Regions from separate parts of the Homo sapiens genome. Here region 1 is linked to region 2. Evidence: promoter capture Hi-C in human tissues and cell types (Jung and others, 2019). All regions are on one chromosome and are shown on one strand. The core of a region is centred on a gene start or on the middle of the fragment in contact, and the rest is flanking DNA. Distances in the headings are between cores, read along the strand shown.

Region 1 (2,700 bases), core at 46-2,545, 89 kb after region 2:
GGCAGGATAAACCTTGCTCAATTAAGCTATCTTTGAGGAACCAGAAAACAAACAAAAATCCCAATATAGTGATTTAAAAATAAACCCTAAGCAGGAAGGATGAGGATGTCTATTACTTAGTATGAGAAAGAAATTGAGCAGATTGGAACGTGACACCAATTCTTGGACTCAGCGAGTTGATTCTGGAGAGGTAAAGCAAAGACAGTTCTCTTCAATGCAGTGAACAGAGAACAGGTAAGGGTTGGGTTGAATTGAAGAATTGCTTTGAGAGTCTCTTATCTGCTGCCTGGAATGATTGTCTGTATCAAGGCCATATTCCTAAAATATGAAATCTGTGACTGATGTGGGGGCTAGGGAATTGAAGCTTGTATGGGGTGTATCTGAGAAATAAAAATATCCAAATCGAGCTTTGATTCAGGCTCAATATTGTAGGTTTGAGGAGGGAAAGTTTCCTCTTCACCTTCTGAGGGTTTGCTGAAAATGAACTGACAAAATGCAGATTAACAGGAGAGAAAGCATACAAAATTTATTTAACGTGCACAAGGGGTGGAGATGGGGGGAAGTCACGGGTGTGATTACCCAATAGCCCAACGATGCTTATATACTCTTCTTCACGGGGAGTGGGGATATGGGGAATGAAGGCAAATCTTTTGAGGAGTAATAGATGGTTAGTAGGGAGAATGAATGGATGCTGAAGATGGAAATTAACTTATAAAGAATTTTCTTTGGAATTTCAATGCGCCTCAGAGACAGACATTATCCTGTGGAAACATCTGTCCAGGTGTGGTTACATTTCTCACTCTTATTTTCTGTGATAGATAATGACATTTGGGGGAGGGGATAGAAGGTTTTCTCTTTGGCAGGTCCAGTCTTCAGATAGAAAAGGGAATACTAGGGTAGGGCCCCTTCCAAGATCTGATCACCTTCAATGGCCTTGCATCTAAAATAGTATACCGTGGTGTTATATTTTGGGGTGAAATTCTCTGGGAGCCTTTAGCATCTTTATTTAGCATTGAGTGTTTCATGGACTAGCTTATTTTTGAGGTAAGATGTTGAACTTTTAACTACATGCTACATGATTAAAAAATCTATTATCTCTACTTCTCCTTTATAGATCAGATGTTTATGTCAGATAAAGCTTGTCTTTAGGATTCCTTCAGGCCCCATTTTCGGTCCTTGTTTTTATCCTCACTGAAGGAACCCATATGTTAGGATTATCCTACCAAATATAGTAAGCAGAAAGTATTTGCCAAGAGAATACCATGTGTACATTTGAACACTGGACATTTAAACAGGTTTTTTTTTTTTTTACGGGGATACTTACAATATGACTAAGGAGATAGATGTATAAAAAATGAACAAGATAGCATACTTGGAGAAAATGCATTATATGCACATTTAATTCCACTATAAGTTTTGAGTGGAGGGATGGATAGGAAGAGAGAAATACATATATGTATGACCCAGAGGGTATATACAATGGGAGAAAGGAACCTGTTGTTCCAAGTTTCTATTATGGCATATATGGTCATGATGATTTTCTCAGTATGAAGCATCTCCTAGGGCTAAGTTTGATGTAAAACTGATGTTCTGTATTTTAGGGGTAAGTTAAGAGGTTTGAAAGTGTTATTTAGACTGTACTATGCTTGATTTTCAATTTATAAACTAACCCGCTTGTAAGTTTCTTTATAATTCCAAAAAAATGTCATTTGCTAGGGGAGATTAGAAGAGTGAAGTGATTCCCCAAGGTAAGTTGAAGGAGTTTCAGTTAGGTCCTATGTTGCGGAAAGTCAGGGACCCCGAACGGAGGGACCGCCTGAAGCCATGGCAGAAGAACGTAAATTGTGAAGATTTCATGGACATTTGTTAGTTCCCCAAATTAATACTTTTATAATTTCTTATGCCTGTCATTACTGCAGTCTCTGAACATAAATTGTGAAGATTTCATGGACACTTACCACTTCCCCAATCAATACCCTTGTGATTTTCTATGCCTGTCTTTACTTTAATCTCTTAATCCTGTCATCTTCGTAAGCTGAGGAGGATGTCTGTCATCTCAGGACCCTGTGATAATTGTGTTAACTGCACAGATTGTTTGTAGAGCATGTGTGTTTGAACAATATGTTCAGGGAACAAGAGAGATAACCGTAAACTCTGACTGCTGGTGAGCCAGGCCAACAGAGCTGTATTTCTCTTCTTTCAAAAGCAAATGGGAGAAATGTCACTGAATTATTTTCCTCAGCAAGGAACATCCCTGAGAAAGAGAATGTGTCCCTGAGGGGAGGCCTCGAAAATGGCCGCTTTGGGGGCGGCTGTCTTTTATGGTCGTAGCTGTGGGATGAAATAAGCCTGGTCTCCTGTAGCACTCCCAGGCTTATTAGGCCGAGGAAATTCCCACCTAATAAATTTTGGTCAGACCGGTTGTCTGCTCTCAAACCCTGTCTGCTCATGAGATGTTATCAATGACAATGTGTGCTCGAAACTTCATTAGCAATTTTAATTTTGCCCCGGTCCTGTGATCTCACCCTGCCTCCATTTACCTTGTGATATCTTATTACCTTGTGAAGCATGTGATCTCTGTGACTCACACCCTATTCGTACACTCCCTCCCCTTTTGAAAATCACTAATAAAAACTTGCTGGTTTTGGGGCTTGTGGAGCATGACGGAACCTACTGACATGTGATGTCTCCCCCGGACAC
Region 2 (2,700 bases), core at 15-2,514:
TTCCAGACAATCTTTCCATACTTGGTGGTTAGAGCAGAAGAGATTCATGAAGAGCACTGCCCTTTGAAACAAAATCTCATATTCAGAAAACTGATGCCAAACACCAAGTAGCATGATTTCACTCTGAAGCAGTGTTTCAGCCATTGCCCTGGAATGGTTTTAAAGCAAGTGATATACTGCTGAAAGTGCTGCCTTTGATATTAAATGTTCATTAAAAATCTTCACTAAGACATAAAGTTTTTCACTACTATCTCTTGGTAAGGGTTCAAATTTGAGATGAAATTCCTTAAAGTGGTTAAAGCATTCATTGTCCCCTCTGCCTGATGCTTTTAACTAGTTTATTTTACAGAAGGAGTACTCTCTTCAAGTGGCTGTAGATTGAGACACTCTTACAGGCTTAGTTGTTGAGTCAACCACATTTAAAAAATGCACCTGCCCTTTGGTTTATGGTGCGTAATGCATTCCTCTCATAAACTGTAAATTGACAAAATTCCTTTGCCATTTTAAAATTGCTTAAAGTATTTATTTTTCTATATTCCTTGTAAGGAACTCCCCTGAGCACTCTTAACTTAATTGCTCTCTGAAAAATATTTTAAAGAAATTCCAGAAGTGGTAAAGCTCAGAGGAGCCCCACAAATACAAAGTGCTGAAGTAAAATATGATGCTAAATGGTGATAAGAGACTTAAAACTAGATTTCATTGTGATAAGAATGTGATAAAGTTTGATTGTAATTCTTATACCTCCTTTCAGAAAATCATGTTATAGAAAAATGTTCCTAAGCAGTAAAACAAAGCCATTTTAAAAAATAACTTCTCATGTGCACTCTTTAACAACCTAAGTGTTATGAAGTCTCTCAATTGAGATCTTTAACCGTAAATAGTTTTTGCCTTTTGTATTATGTCCAGATCCTATTTAATGCAATTAGAATACAAATTCCTATGTACTGAGGACCTTGATTACATAGATGAGATATTTCTTAGTTCCAGTTGGTGTTTCTCATCTCTTGTCTTCTCTGACCCTATTTATACATTCTCTGTTTTTATCAGATGATTCTTCCCCAGAACGGACTGGGAGAGCGAGGTCCGGGTTTCCTTCTATTTATTTGCATCGATGTCGCTCCGAGTCTTCAGCACTGGGCCGCGTATGACAGCATCTTAGTGGGTGCGGAGCGGGACAGCGCGCCGGGGGCGTGGCAGGGGCGTGGCCTGTCCGCGGGGCGGGGAGTGCGGGGCGGGGCTTCCGCGGAGCGCAGCGAGCGGGCACATCCCAGGTTAGCTGCTGCGAGCCGAGCCGGGCGGCGGAGGCGGCGGCGGCGGCGGCAGTGGCGGCAGTGGCGGCAGTGGCGGCAGCGGCAGCAGTTGCAGCAGTGGTGGCCAGAGCGGATGCTTGCGGGCTCCCTGCGGCTCCACTAGTTTTCTTCGCCCCGCCCAGCCGCCCACTCTTCTCGGCTAGGGAAGAAGACCAGAGGGTGCTCAGCTGGAAAACTCTGGTGTCTCAGCTTAGGGCCTCCTCCGGGAAGAGCTAACTGCTCCCAGGTGAAGCCGGTGCCCGCGGGCGGTCCGTACACCCCGCAGCCGGCTCGCACCGCTCGAGAGCCTCGGCCGCTGTGTCTTCCACGTCTGCAGCTCAGCCAGGGCGCGCAGGGCGAGTGGGGTCCACTGGCGGGTAAAGGGGACCAGGACGGCGAGGATGGACGCACAGACCTGGCCCGTGGGCTTTCGCTGCCTCCTCCTTCTGGCCCTGGTTGGGTCCGCCCGCAGCGAGGGCGTGCAGACCTGCGAAGAAGTTCGGAAACTTTTCCAGTGGCGGCTGCTGGGAGCTGTCAGGGGGCTGCCGGATTCGCCGCGGGCAGGTAAGGGGCAATGAGGGGGTCTCTGGACTGGCGGCGTCCGAGCCCGGCCTTCGCTCCCCCAGGCTCCCTTGGTGGCACTCGTGGGAAGATGACCTTTCGGGCCCTGCAGCCGCGCAGGGTGAATCCCGGGGAGGCTTCCGGGGATGCTTGGTGCGGGTAGCCTGAGTGCAGCGCAGCGCAGCTCTGGGGACCCCTAACCAAGCCTGCGACGAATCCCCGTTCTGGGCATCTGCTTCCCGCCCGGCTCCCTTCGTCTTGGAGGATGAGTTGGAAGGAACCAGGAAAGCAGACATCAGGGCGTGGGGGACACGCAGTCTAACTCCGTTTCTCTTCCGAGTAGGAATTTCCCCAGTGCCCCACCGGGGATTTCGGTTTACTGCTTTCTCATAAGGTGGAGGGAATTGAATTGATCGCCCCAAGTTTGGTACTAAAAATCACAAACCTGCGATATACCCCTTTGCTGGAGAATGGGGCACAGACAAGGGCAGCCGGTCTCCTCTGTAATTAGGACTTGGACCCTGTGCACCCAGAGACGTGACCCTTAGCTGCCCTTCTGTGCCCTCGTATCAAGCCCTGCTTGGAGGAAACCCAACCACCCAGTGTGTCTCCCAGCACCAAGGTAGTTTTTAGCCTGAAAAGTGTTAGGGCAACAGGCGATCAAACCGAACGTACTGGGGAGTCACTTGACATGGATGAGATGTACCAGCGTTCCAAAGGGAAAGATACAGTTTGTGTGGCCAGCGTGGATCTTGCTTCCTGTGAGCGCCTTTTGCCTGTGCTTTCGAACCCTGCTCCCCGTTTCCACCGCACCAATTTCCTTCTGCTGGTGGGAGTTCCAGTGTAGGTT

Evidence for each region. Contacts are between HindIII fragments. The study calls those that stand out against the background at their distance.
Region 1: a contact is called between a fragment that was not itself captured here and the fragment with the promoter of GPC5 in region 2, in 5 of the 25 tissues and cell types used here (adrenal gland, aorta, lymphoblastoid cells and 2 more).

Annotation. Positions count from the first base shown.
Region 1 is chr13:91,486,634-91,489,333 of GRCh38, forward strand. The region is part of intron 2 of GPC5 (glypican 5); the gene reads left to right. Among named protein-coding and RNA genes, the nearest start is that of GPC5, 89 kb to the left of the region's middle. The HindIII fragment of the contact is 4,390 bases long and covers 1-2,700 here.
Region 2 is chr13:91,397,357-91,400,056 of GRCh38, forward strand. It overlaps GPC5 (glypican 5), which reads left to right and starts at 1,265. Exons shown (of 8, transcript NM_004466.6): 1 at 1,265-1,853. The coding sequence starts at 1,691. LOC124903189 (a long non-coding RNA gene) reads left to right here. Exons shown (of 2, transcript XR_007063831.1): 2 at 1-232. RefSeq lists silencers at 1,079-1,373, 1,080-1,349. The HindIII fragment of the contact is 16,121 bases long and covers 1-2,700 here.